2 separate regions of the Homo sapiens genome follow, and region 2 is linked to region 1. Evidence: promoter capture Hi-C in 16 types of primary human blood cells and fetal thymus (Javierre and others, 2016). All regions are on one chromosome and are shown on one strand. Each heading gives the region's core, a stretch centred on a gene start or on the middle of the fragment in contact. The rest is flanking DNA. Distances are from core to core; before and after follow the strand shown.

Evidence for each region. The method cuts DNA at HindIII sites, captures the fragments that hold promoters and counts their contacts. A CHiCAGO score of 5 or more calls a contact.
Region 2: a fragment that was not itself captured here is called in contact with the fragment with the promoter of ZNF280D in region 1 in 1 of 17 cell types (fetal thymus); the score reaches 7.4 in fetal thymus.

Annotation. Positions count from the first base shown.
Region 1 is chr15:56,729,112-56,736,598 of GRCh38, reverse strand. ZNF280D (zinc finger protein 280D) reads left to right here and starts at 3,090. Exons shown (of 22, transcript NM_017661.4): 1 at 3,090-3,141. RefSeq lists a silencer at 3,071-3,340. The HindIII fragment of the contact is 3,680 bases long and covers 2,279-5,958 here.
Region 2 is chr15:56,607,290-56,614,229 of GRCh38, reverse strand. No RefSeq gene overlaps it. Among named protein-coding and RNA genes, the nearest start is that of ZNF280D, 120 kb to the left of the region's middle. The HindIII fragment of the contact is 6,604 bases long and covers 1-5,070 here.

The sequences.
Region 1 (7,487 bases), core at 1,841-4,340:
CGTTCTAGAGGCCAAGGGCGTATGATGTCAGAAGTTTGAAGGACGATGTCAGAATCATCCAAATAACTTCCTGTGTGCTGATTCTATTCTCATGAGTCATCTTTTGTAATTTGGCCTCTCACGTAAATGTTCCTTTGAATGAAAATACATTAACCAGCTTTTTGGTCTCCATGGCAGTTGTGTTTTTCATGAACAACAACAAAAAATAATTGCAATTTTGGCTTACACATGTGTCTCAGTAAGTTTGGTTGGTATGAATCATCCCCCAGGATTCAAATTAGTTCTGGAGACTGGCAACATTGAGCTTTTGTCTCTACAAAGTGAGGACTAGACTCTAGAATACAGAGTGCAATCTTCTCTTTCATCCTGTTATAAATAAAAATAATAGGATGCCATCATTTTATTATTTTTACTTTTTATTTTCATAGGTTTTTGGAGAACAGGTGGTGTCTCGTTACATGAATACGTTCTTTAGTGGTGATTTCTGAGATTATGGAGCACCCATCACCCGAGCAGTATACACTCTACCCAATGTATAGTCTTTTATTCCTCACTCCCCTCTCACGCTCTCCCCGGAGTCCCCAAAGTCCACTCTATCATTACTATGTCTTTGCATCCTTATAACATAGCTCCCACTTACGAGAACATACAATGTTTGGTTTTCCATTCCTGAGTTACTTCACTTAGAACAATGGCCTCCAATTACATCCAGGTTGCTGCAACTGCCATTATTTCATTCCTTTTTATGAGGATGCCATTATTTTGGACCAAACTCCTGCACTAAGCCCCAGCAGACTAGACTAAAAACCAACATGGAGTTACCCATGCTCACAAAACTGAAACTGAGTTGTTATGTGGCCTTCTGAGAAATCAGGAGAGAGATAACAGCCTAATTTCCCAAACAGGCCAGTTTAAACCTTCAATCCCCATGATAATGAAGTTCCCTGTTTTAAGTCGTTTTTGTTTGTTTTTGAGACAACGTCTTGATCTGTTGCTCAGGCTGGACTGCAGTGGCAGGATCATGGCTCATTGCAGCCTTGAACTCCTGGACTGAAGGAATCCTCTTGCCTCAGCCTCCTCAGTAGCTGGGACTACAGGTACACACCACCACACCTGGCTGCTGTTGTTCTTACAATATTAATCTGGAGTAACCTGGTATTAACCAATCAGTTTTCTTTCTATTATTCTGTCTCAGTGCCCCACCTTACAAGGAAAGTAACTTTGAAAAGACCAACTTGTTTTTTGTTGTTTCTTCTTTCTTCAGCCCATTTTCTGTCTATAAAGCCAACCACATCTGCTCCATTCATGGGAACACCTATTCTGTTTTACTGAATGAAGTGGTGCCTGAATCTAGAATTGCAATAAAGCCAACCGAGATCTTTAAATTTGTTGTAATTTCACCTGACACTGTAGCATGCTTTGCTAACCTTTAGGGACATTTGAAAAACGATGTCTTAAGAATGTTCCAAGATTTTGGAATTTTTAAACTTTCCATGTTTGCTGTTTTGACTATTTTCTGTCTTTTCCTGTAAGGTTTATTTTTCAGGGCCAGCAGAAAAGGGAAAGCTGGGTAGATGATCCCAGGCCCATGTGGGAGAAGGATAGGTCATGGTTACCTCCAAGTACACCAGATCTGTAGGAGTGATCCAGGTGGTCTTTGGGGAAGATTAATTTGGGGGCAGTAATCAATATGGAGACTACAGTAATGATAAACACTTGAGAAAAACTGGGGAAAGCCAGATGAGAGAGAAGAAACTGAATTCGAATAGGAAGATGAATTAGCAAGATTCAGTGATTGAACAGGGTGTCTGTTATGGATCCTAACAGGCAAGATTTCAAGTCTTGGTCACTCACAAGCTGCACCAGTAATGCCATTGCTCTTGAGAAGACAATCAGTTTAGGAAACTTTCCTTACAGATCAGAATACAACCTTTAGCAAGTATTTACGCAAGCAGTATCTTGGCAAGTGTTCTTCTTGTAAATTTCTTATACTTCTCGTTGTCAAACTTTAAAAAATGCTATTACAGGTTAATATGCAGATGGCAGAGTTAGGAATTAGAGTGTGCAAGTTAATCATTCTAATTGGGTCACTCTTGTCATAGCCAACTAAAAGAATGGAGAAGCCAGTGCTGGGGGAAGCCCTCAGGGCACATAACATTGCTCTAAGAATGGAATTCTCAGCAAGCCTGGCTGCTGAAACCGCCTGCTGTAACCTGAAACAGGTTTTATCTTCAGGTTTTAGCTTCTCAAAGAACCTGCTGCAGCTGTAGGGCAAGCTTTACCAAGCCCCTTCCCTCACCAGTCAGAACTAACCAGCTACCCAAAACTTTACTAAATGTCAACGAACTTTCTAGAAAAACAATAGATAACTTTTTTTAAAAAATAAAACCCCCTAACTCCTCTTTGTTCTTCTGACATACTGAAGACCACCCTGTATGTGTAAATAACCTGAACTTGCAATTCCTGTGTCCCAAATAAAACGCTAAATGTACAGATTCGTCTCTTCGTATTTGACCTCGACAGGGAACGCAAGCAAAACCACACATTTAAAACAGACTTGGTAAAATCAGCTCGTTATTTAAAGAAACGGACGATTCCTTTTTCTCTCCTGGTTTAGTCTTCGACCCACAGGCCCCTTGCTTCTTTCGAACGGCGGCTGTATCCCATGACCTTTTCACTTTCCAAGCCAACGGACTGGGGGTCGTTACACACGCGGAGGGCCCGGAACGCACGGCTCCTCGCCTGCAAATTCCGAGCAGTCCGGATTTTGGGGCTGCCTCCCGGCCACACCAGCCAGCAGCTCGCACCCACATGGAGGCAGGGCCCTGGCCCTCGCCCCGGACCGGCGCGTGGCGGGGCGCGTGGGTCTTCGAGGGCCCGCGACGCGGCGCACATGCCGGTGCCCGCCTCCCGCGTCGGCGAGAAGACAGGGAGCTCGGACACGGGGAGGCTGACCCGGAGCCTACCCATGAGGCAGCGCGCCGGCTGCACGAGAGCCCCCCCCTTTCCACGGCTCGGCTGCCAGCTCCGCAATGGGAGCCGCCGCCGTCGCCGCAGTGTAGTTTTTCGTGCTCCTCCTTTTCCTCCTCCTCTTTCTCCTCCTCCTCAGGGCTCCAGTCAGGCCGATCCGCTCCGCTCACGGTAAGCGCCCCCCCGCCCCCGCCCGCCCTGCGCTGCAGCAGGCAGAGGCCCTCCCGCGCGGCCTGCGCCGCCTCACTCCGGGGGCGCTGGACTGGGGGTCTTGAGGCCGGCGCGGGTCGTCGGGAGCGCCCAGAGCGCGGGGGAGGAGACCGGCTGCGCGGCGGCGGCCGGACCGCCATCTTGCGTCGGCCCAGGCGGGGGAGGAGGTATCCCGGCGCGACGCGGCAGCCGCCTCGGCTGCTGCAGGCCTGGGCCGCGCAGGCCTTCGCCTTCTGCTCCTCCGCCACCTCCTCTCCCAGGCGTGTGCGCCTGTTTGTCCCCAGCCTGGTTTTGGCTTTTCTCTCTGGAGGCAACTCCCTTTGGTACATTTTGTGCCGATGTTTGGCCAAGACCCATGGTCCTCACACCACAGCCCACCCCCGTGTCTCTTCAGTCGTAGGAAAGGAGACCAAAGGGGATTCGGGATTTGCAGGCACAGGGCCCCTCATTTTGCCCAGATGACCGGTCGTTCCACGTTTGCACCCTCATTTTTGTCAAAGAGACCTCCCCTCCTCTGCCATAGAATTCCCGTTATTGTCTACAGAAGAAGGGCCCTGAGGAGAAACGTGGAGTTGGAGACAAAATTTTCTGAGCTTTGCAAGGTTCACTTACTGAGACGGAAAGAATGATCTCACTCTGAGGTTTTAGCCTGCTCCAGCGATGGAAGGAATTCCTCCCAACTTATCGCAAGTTTTAACGCTTTTAAGGAGAAATCTGCTGGAGAGGAAAAACGTCAAGGTGAACCCGCTTCTGCAAGCACGGGAGACCTTTGGCCAAAGGCCTTTGTTTGCGAAGATTTGTTAAAAAAAAAAAAATCTGTCATCTTAAATATTTGGCTTTATTTTCAGGTTTGGACAGAATTTGTCTTTTTTAGTGCCATGAAACATAAAATGGAACGCTAGAAGGACAGTTTTAAAGCACAAAAGCTGCCTCTTAGCATCTGTAAGGTGTCCTGCTTTGGGGGACTGCTGTGCCAACTCCAGCTGTCTCCACGCAGAAACTTAACCAGGGAAGGCACTGGTTTGCTTATACCATTGTTAGGGCTGTGTGCCTCTGATGTTTTAACATCACTACAAATACTGTTGTAATTGTGTCTTGCTTTTGTGCCTTTCATTGATAACCCCTGATTTGTATCTCTTAGCCCCTTTTGAAGTGGTCTGGGTTGCTGGAATCATTTTGCAGGCGAGGAAACAGAGCCTCAGGGAGAGGACTTTAATGAGGTCACTGACTAGGAAGAGCCAAGGCCAATTATATTAATAGAACCTTAGGTCTTCTGACTCCTTCTCCGGTGCTCAACTCTAGTATATACCATTTTTGTGGGAATGAGGTAGATGAGAATAGGCAAGGAGGCTCACTTAAAGATTTTAAGAAACATTACTCAGTTGCCCTTTCGTTGATATTTTTATACTTTACTTTTGAAATGCGGTTGTTATGTTGCCCAGGCTGGTCTCAGACTCCTGGGCTCAAGCTGACCTCTCACCTCAGCCTCCGTAGCTGGGATTACAGGTGTGCACCATCTAGCCTGGCTTTTATATTTTTATTCTCGAGTTAATTTCTTAACTTTGCAACTTGCTATTTTTTTCGAAAATATTGGAAAGTTAAATAGCCCATTTGAACACTTAGTTTTAACGCTACCTTTTTGCCATATTTGCATTTTTCCACTTATCTCACATTCTGTTTTCTGAACGTTTCAAAGTGCATTACGGATATGACAGTTCAGCCCTAAATGCTGTATGTGTGTCAGTATGTATTTTGTAAGAGATCAAGGCCATTTTTCTGTGTAACAATACCGCAATCACACTTAAGAAAGTGAAGAATATTCCTTAAAATCTAACGTGGTGTAGTATATATTCACATTTCCCCCCATTTCTTCAAAATTCCTTTTCAGTCTTTTTTTTTTTTTTTTTTTTTTGAGATAGGTACTTGCTCTGTGTCCCAGGATGGAGCGCTGTGGAGCAGTCTTGGCTCGCTGCATCCTTGACCTCCTTCCTGGGCTCAAGCCATCCTCCCACCTCGGCCTCCTGAGTAGCTGGGAACCCAGGAGCACGCCACCACACTCAGCTAATTTTTGTATTTTTTGTAGAGATGGGGTTTTGCCGTGTTACCTAGGCTGGTGTCAAACTCCTGGGTTCAAGTGATCCACCTGCCTCGGCCTCCCAAAGTGCTGGGATTACAGATGTGAGCCACAGCACTGGGCGAAATTGACCTTTTGAAGAGACCTGGTCTGTAGTCTTTCAGAATAACCCATATTCCATGTTTTAGTGATAGTTCCTCCTGATAGTGTTTAAATTTGTTCCCCCTATCCTCTCTGTTTTCTCTAAACTTGGATTTGGGTCTAAAGGCTTGAATATATTTAGGTTTAATATTTTTTTGACAGGAATACTTCATAAGCCATGCAGTATGCTTCATTGCATACAACATCCAAAGGCACATAAAGTAGGCTTGTCTTATTAATAATCCTAAATTTGATCTCTTAGATAAGGTGGTGACAAGCTATCTTTCCATTGTAAGCATTTCCTTCTGCAATTAGCAAGTCATTTGTGGTGTGATATTTTGGCATTAGTAGTTGGTAGGAATTTACCTGCAGTAATCTGATAAACACAGTTGGGAGCAGTCGTTTAGGTATGGCTTTGGAAGTTAGGAAGAAGAAGAAGTGGAGACAATTCTGGAGGAAATACTAACCCATCTACTTTAGGGAACTTGGAATGCTTCTATGTGTTGGCATCAGAGCCTAGGGAGACTAGGAGAGAGGAGGCAGAAAGTAGATGTCAGAAAGCTTTGCCTTCTTTGAAAGTTTGCTTAGGACCATTTTAGCCATAGTAAGCTATGGTAAATAGAAAAGTTCTGAAGTAGTTTGATGTTGGAGGATTGCAAGTGCTTCAACTGGAACATCTGTCCAGTTAGGCTACTAATCCAGTCCTTTTTCATTCCAGTGTTCTATTAATCAGCATTGGCTCACTGAAATAGCAGTTTTCACAAATGAAAAGTCAACTGTAGTTTTAGGTGACAGGAAATTGGATATTTCTATTGACAACATACTTTGTTATTCCAAAAGCAAGTTTTGGAAGATGAGGAATACTTACGACATATTCACTAATTAAATATATAAATCCTGAATAGTTTTTTTCTTGCTTTAGAAAGGAATTAAAAACTTTGAATTTTCAGATTGCTTTAAATAGTGATTTAAATAATGACTTGATTTAATCAGTGCCTTATATCAAAAATTGTATGTTTAGAATTTTGATTTATTTCTCCAGAGCAATTTTAAGGATTCTCTTAACCCTCAGTATACGAGGAAAAGTGTACAATTATCACTATCATCTGGGTCAAAAGGGACTGGTTTTTTTTGCATTTTACGTTATTATGTATAATTTATAGGAGTAAAAATAAAGCATAATGTAAAACAACTTATTGGAGCTTTTAATAAGAATTTCAATACAGCAGATATCTTTGTATGTACTTAGAAAAATAAAAAATAAAAAATCTATTTCATGCATTTAATTACATAACACTCCTACAACAAATATACATCACATTTGAACGCTTTGCATAAACATTCTCATTGTAACACACATTTTTTTCTTTTTGAGTTTCTGTATCTGTACAAAGAACATCTTTCTTTCTTCCCATTTTCAGATCTGTGCAGAAATCATTGTGGTTAGAGGGTAAGACAACATTCCCTTCCTATTTTCTGCAAGTTATTTTCCTAGTTGCATGAGGAATTTCTTCTTGGTAACTTCCAGTTTTGTAACTGAAGCTTTTCCCGTACAATGAAAGTATACTCTGAACTAATATCAGTCATAAGCCATCTTCAAATCATTCTCTTCCAAGTATTGTTTCTGACCCACTTTTTGAATGTGTCACTTCTGTAGTCTTTTTGTAATACAGATCACTTCAGATTAATTTATGCAAGGATTTTAAAATTCATTGATGGTTGAGAATGCACTGAGCTGAGAAGAGTAGGTATAGTTTTCCTTAGGACAATAAGAATCATGAATTATATTCGAAATCCAGATTTTGTGCAGTTGACTTCTTTTGCTTTTCCATTTGTGAAAATTCACAGAAGTTCAATGCTGTTCTTCCTAACAGTGCCAACTAAGGAGAGTTTGATGCTGTGTGATATTCAGCCAAGTCTAAATTTGTAAAAAATTTGTCACAAGTTATATGTCTGACAGAATTTTGAAATTTTTCTGTCATTTCGTATATATCAATCTTGATTCTACTTTCATGCCTTTTCCCAATCTCTGTGTAGATCTGCATTGTCCAAGCTTATCATATTTCATTGTCACCTGTTGCTCAGATTTTCA
Region 2 (6,940 bases), core at 519-3,018, 120 kb after region 1:
GGACTCTACTCCAAAATTATGCCTCAGTGGCTAGAAACTCCAGTCTCAAAGTGGCAGCTGGCTCAGCATCTGAAGCAGTATGTAGCTTTGCTCAGATTTCTGTGCAGTTTTCTCTTATGCCACCCCCAACCATGAAGTTATACAGGTTTACAGAAGCAGTAACCTCAGGCAGTGATCACAGCTGTTTTCACACAGAGACCCCAGCTGTACCATGGTTCCATGCCACATACATAGTGCTTTCGTTACATCAAAGGAGTAAAAACTCCCAGTGGCCCCTAGCTGCTTCCTGGACCTAGACATCGGCAGGGCTGCCGCTTTAGCCCCACCTTACTAGGTTGCCGCCTTCTGTTTCTGACCCAAATAAATGCTTATTTTGTATCTGGGCATGCATGAAACTGTCTTTTTCTTGTTAATTGAATCTATAATTCACATTTGTAGAGAAGGGGGAGAGTTCAGTGTTGAATTTACAGCACTCTTGACCTAAATTGTCCTCTTCACACATTTTTCTCAGTTTATTTTGTTGTCCTTTTTCTAGCTGCTTCATTTGGATGCTTAGTTCCTTTTGAATTATTCTTATTTTCTAAAAATGAGTTTAAGGTGAATATTTTGTATAGCTAACATTTACTAACCGTTTGCTATATGGCAGGCACCAAGCTAAAAGTACTTTACGTTGATTATTTGCTGTAATCTTCCCAAAAGCCTTATGAAGTAGAAACTGTTAGTATCTTAGTTTATAAATAAGAAAGTTGAGATACACAGTGAATAAGAAATTAGTTACGTGTAACCAAATAGGTAGTCTGACTCTCAAAAGCCTGGGCTTTTGACTAGGATTAGATATGTACCAATCACAACCAGTTAAGTGATGCATACATATATATAAAGAAAGACTTAATAGACGTTTTTCATTTCTCAGTTTCCTTCCTGCTACCCAATATAGCTAAAGGGCAATGTATTTTTTGTTTGTTTGTTTGTTGTTTTTTGAGACGGAGTCTTGCTCTGTTGTCCAGGCTGGAGTACAGCGGTGTGATCTTGGCTCACTGCAACCTCCGCCTCCCGGGTTCAAACGATTTTGCTGCCTCAGCCTCCCGAGTAGCTAGGATAACAGAAGCCTGCCACCATGCCCAGCTAATTTTTGTATTTTTAGTAGAGATGGGGTTTTACTGTGTTGCCAAGGCTGCTCTCTCTCGAACTCCTGACCTCAGGTGATCCGCCCACCTCGGCCTCCCAAAATGTTGGGATTACAGGCGTGAGCCACGGCGCCCGGCCAGTGCACCACATTTTGAACTGTTACCCAATTATCTATTCAAAAATAAATTTAAATGAAATACCTATTTTAAGCCACTAAATTTGTAGGAATTTGTCATGCAGCACAGAAAACAAATACAAACTGTTTCTGGTTTTTAGCTATTATAAGTTGCTTTGAACATCGCATGCAAGTCTGTGTATGGACATAAGCTCCGATTTACCTTTGGTAAATAGGAATAGGATGACTGGGTGGCATGGTAAGTATGCTTTTAATTCTTTAGGAAACTGCTAAACTGTTTTCCGAAGGGGCTTTTTGTTATATTCTCAGCAGCATTGTATGAGAGTTGCAGTTGTTTCCAAATTGTCACTAACACTTGGTATGGTCAGTCTCTTTAATTTTGTCCATTCTAATGGGTGTGTAGTGGTAAATCAGAGAATATGCTTTCCATAATTTTAGCCTTTGACATATATTAAGATTGTCTTTAGGGCTGAGTATATGGCCAGTTTTGGTAAATGTTTTATATGCACTTGAAACAAATATATATTCTGCAGTTGTTGGGTACAATATTCTACATATATCTGGTAGGTCAATTTTCTTAATTTTGTTATTCAGAACTTTTATATCCTAACTGATTTTGTTTGACTACTTGTTCTATCAATTACTGGATAAGGTGAGTTAAAATCTTCTACTCTGAATTCATTTCTTTTTTCAGGTCTTCAGTTTTTGCTATATTTCAACCACTGATAGTTTTTCTTTTTGAGAATATCACATAAATGAAATTGTTACAGGAAAGGCATCCCGATCCAGACCCCAAGGGAGGGTTCTTGGATCTCATTCAAGAAAGAATTCAGGGCGAATCCACAGTGCAAGGCAAAAGCAAGTTTATTAAGAAAGTAAAGTGATTAAAGTACAGCTACTCCATAGACAGAGTAGGGCATTCCCGAAAGTAAGAGGAGGAACACGTCCACCCTAGGTACGATACTTGTCTATATATATAGGATAAAAAAAATCATTGGGAGATGTGCTCTGCTACAAGGGTTTGTGATAAAGGATTAATTTTCTTAATTACTGTATTTTACAATAATCGATATTACCATTAAAGCAAAACTAGGAATGCTTCTCTTCTCAAGATAGCAGGATATCAGGACACTCCCAAGTCTGGATCTGTTTAGTAAACATTATCCATCTGTTCCCTTAACCGTAAACATCTAGAGGCTAGGAATACATTAGTTTCTAGGAATGCAGCCCAGCAAGTCCCAGCCTCAGTTTCCCAGCCCTCACTCAAGACGGAGTCACCCTGGTTCGAACACCTCTGACAGACTGATACATTATGTAACACTTTGAGACTTTGATTCAGCATAAGGTCTATGAGATTTGTACAAGTTGTTGCATGTATCAATAGTTCATTCCTTTTTATTACTGAGTAGTAATCCATTCTATAAATAATATGTTTATTCATTCACCATTAAAGGACATATGGTTGTTTCCTGTTTGATTATGAATAGAGTTGGTATAAACATTCATGTACATATTTTTGTGTGACCATATGTCTTAATTTCTGTTGTAAATACCCAGGAGTAGGATTGCTGGGTCAAATGGTAAGTGTATGTTTAACTTACAAGAAACCAGCAAGCTGCTTTCCAGAGTAGCTGCACAATTTGCATATTCACTTTTTACTTGGAATCAATATTTTACTTCAACTGGAATGTAGAAACCTCACCCACGTATGTTCTTTTATCCTCCATGCTTTACATTATAGTTGTCATACATATTACATTTATATTCATTAAAAGCCCATTAGATAATGTTACGAGTTTTGCTTTCAGCCATCAAATATATTTTAAAGAACTCAAGAGGAGAATAGTCTGTTATAGTTACTTAGGTAGCCACCATTTTCGTTGCTCATCCTTTATGCATAATATACCAAGTTTCCTTCAGGTACTATTTCCTTTTGGCTGAAGACATTTCTTTATAATTATTTTAGAGCAGATCTGATGACAACAAATGATCTTAGTTTTCCTTTTTCTAATGATGTCTATTTCATCTTAATTCTTAAATAATTTTAATAGTCTATAGAATTTTAGGTGGACAGATTTTTTTCTTTGTTTGTTTCTGCACTTTAAAAAATGTGCCATTTCATCTGAGTCTCTCTGGTTTCTGGTGATAAATCAGTAGTCATGTGAATCAATGTTCTTTTCTATGATAAGGCATTGTTTTTCTTTGGCTACCTTCAAATTTTTTCTTTGTCTTTAGTTTTCAGCAATTTGATTATGGTGTTATCAAAGTCAAATAAAATGATAGAGATGAAACTCTAAAGAAAATGTTTTATTTGGAAAAACGGAATTACCATTCAGGGCATGTACACAGACCAGGGTGGTCTTTGGTATCTTCAAAGAGCAGAGAAAAGGTTGGGGGTTTTATTAGAGAAATGTTATGTATTGTTTTGTAAGAAAACTCATTGGCATTAGGAAAGTTTTTGGGAGCTCATAAGCTCTGATTGGTGAGTAATGATGGGTAGGTAAAACTAGGCTTAAAGTCATGGCAGTTCATCTTAGCAGCTACTAGGTAAAAATAGTCTTAAGGTTGTAGCAGATCATTTTGGCAGTTGGCTTAGGAGACAGTCCCTGGGCAGGCACTTGTGCCCTGAGTGCTTTTCTTTTCTTTTCTTCCCCTGGTCTCCTGACTCTAATTTAATTGGGCATGATAACTCCAATTCATATAATCAATTCTCACAGTGTTTGGTTGTGGATTTGTTTGGGATTTTTCCTGTTTGAGATTCACTGAACTTCTTGAATCTGTAAGTTTATATCTTCTGCAAAATATGGGAGGAGTTTTTTGCTGTTATTTATCCTCCCCCTTTTTATTGTGGTAAAATATACAGAAAATAAAATTTACCACTTTGACATTTCTAGTGTATAATTCAGTGGCATTTAGTATATAAACAATGTTTTATGCAACCATCACCACTATTTTGAGAAATTTTTCATCATCCCAAACAGAAACTCTCTACCCATTGAGCGATAACTCCCCATTCCCCCTGCCCCTAGTACCTAGTAATTTCAATTCTATTAATCCTTTCTGTCTTTATGACTTTGTGTATTCTAGATACCTTATAAAATATGTGTTTGTCTTCACGTCTGAATTATTTCACTTAGCATAAGTTTTTCAACTTCATGTTGTAGCATGTATCAGAATTCATTCTTTTTTTGTGGTTGAGTGATATTCCATCGTACATATATATCAAATTTTGTGCATTCTGTTTGTCCATCTTTTGATGGACACTTTAGTTGTTTCCACCTGTTGGCTATTGGGAATAATGGTGCCAGGAATATTTGTGTACAAGTATCTGTTTGAGCCCCAGTTTTCCATTCTTTGGGGTATATATTGAGCAGTGGAATTATTGAGTCATATGGTAATTCTATATTTAACATTTTGAGGAGCTGCCAAACTTCCCATAGTGGCTGCACCATTTTAACTTCCCACCAGCAATTTACAAGGGTTCCGTCTTGGGTGCGCGATGACTGTCTGGGCTGGTGGCACAGAGGTAAAAGAATTTACCAAGATAGTTGTAGGTAAAGAAAGGCAGATTGGTTAAAGAAAGTATAAAAGTACGTTGCCAGGGAGCTATAGGTGGAATCAGCAGAAGAGTAGCTGACTGCAAGGAAACAAGGAAATAAGAACAAGAATGCTTCTTATGCTGAAGAGTGCTACAGGCAATACTGATAATGCTAAGGTTGCAGTGAGCTAACTTGCAGGTGTCTGATGATAGTTGGACCCAGGAGGGCAATGTGTAGTGGACCATGAAGAAAGGCAGACTTGAAGCTTATCTGCTTTCTCTTTTTGCTTTGCCTTGGTGTCCAGCCAGCCTGACTCCTTTTCCCTAATTATGAATCCACAGGTTCCAATTCCCACATCCTTGCCAACACATGTTAATTTCAGGAATTCTGGGAGTAGCCATTCTAGTGGATGTGAAATGATATTAGACATTATTCCTTTCTCCTCTTTGTCAGTCTCTGATAACACAAACATTAGACCTTTGGTACTGTCCCACAGGCTCCTTAGGTTCTTTACTTTTTTAAGAAATATTTTCTTTATTTTCGGATCAGGTAATTTCTATTAACCTATCTTCGAATTCACTGACTCATTTTTTTGTCATCTCCATTCTGCTATTAAGACTATCTAGTGAGATTTTTTTAAAAAAATTTAGTGATTACATATTTTTTTCAGTTCCCAAATTATCATTTGGTTCTTTATGTCTTCAGTTTCTTTGCTGAGACTTTATATCTTTTTATTCATTTTAAGAGTGTATGTCCTTACTTCCTGGAGCACCTTTATACTAATAATAGCTGCTTTAGCATTTTGGTCAGATAATTCTAACACCTGTGTCAAATCAGCATTGGTGTGTGTTGATCATCTTTTTCTCATGTGAGCTCAGATTCGCCTAGTTCTTCATATACTAAGTAGTTTTGGAATGTATCCTGGAAATTTCAAATATAATGTTAAGGGACTCTGGGTTTATTTAAATCCTATGGAGAATGTTGATATATTTGTTTTAGTAGGCAATTGACCTTATTGGGTTCTGGCTGCAAATTCCAACCAGCTTCTGTGGGTTGTGGTTTCAATGTCAGTTTCATTTTCAAAGCCTTCAGTTTTATTCAAATTTGTCACACATGTATGCTGCTCAGTGGCCATTCTGAAACCTGGCATGTGGTTTATCTCTTAGTTTAGTTCAGTCTTTGGTATGTTGGTTTATGATCAGAACCACACATGCATCCCTCAGAAGTGATACCAGAAATTCATAAACAACATTATCTGGTAATTTTCCAAAGATCCTCCCTTTAGGTATTTTCCCCAGTAACTTCCAGTCCCTTAAGCCTCTTTTTTGATCTTCCATCTGTAATACTGTGGCTTTATTTACCCCCCATCCTGCCCTACATTTTTCATGTCTGCACTCATATCCAGGGATAAGTGGAGGGAAGTTAGAATTTAAAAAGAAATGGTGTTCACCTCACTCTCTTGAGACTATAGCACCTCTGGAAAGTAACCCTCTCCCTCTCAGAATTTTGGTGCTCCTGTAGCTATCGGGAGATCTCTATCTTCTTCTTTGATCCTGAGTAGAAGGCTTCTCTGGAAGCTTTCTCTAGCTATACCAATACCTATCTCCACATTATAGATTGCCTTAAATCCACACTGAGAAATACTAAAGGGGGGTGAAAAGGGTCTATTCACTACCAGTTAGGTCTACTCCACTTCAAATTTCGTTGTTCTTTAGTCTTCATACTATTATCTTGTATTCACAGTCCTTCCACATTGTTATATGCATTCTGTCCAGGTTTTGTAGCCGCATTCAGTGGGAGAGTCAAAGTGGAGTGTGCTTACTCCACCTTACCCGGAACTGCAACTCTTAAAATAATTTTATAATTAACATCAATAGTAAGGGAGACTATGCATAAAACAAATAAACAAAACCTAACAAATTTGACATGTAAGCACTCTCACTGCCAGGCCAACATGTTGTTTAAAACTGTCCATAGAAATTGAATCTAAGTAGAGAAATTTCAGGTAGAAGCAAACTTTATAATTCCACCAAACCAAGAGCAAGTCAAGAATGCCTTCTATGATACTCTGGCTTCTTATTTTTAGGATGCAGAAAAGCTGCTCTGGCTAGCTTAAGAAAAATAGTTGCTCTGGCTA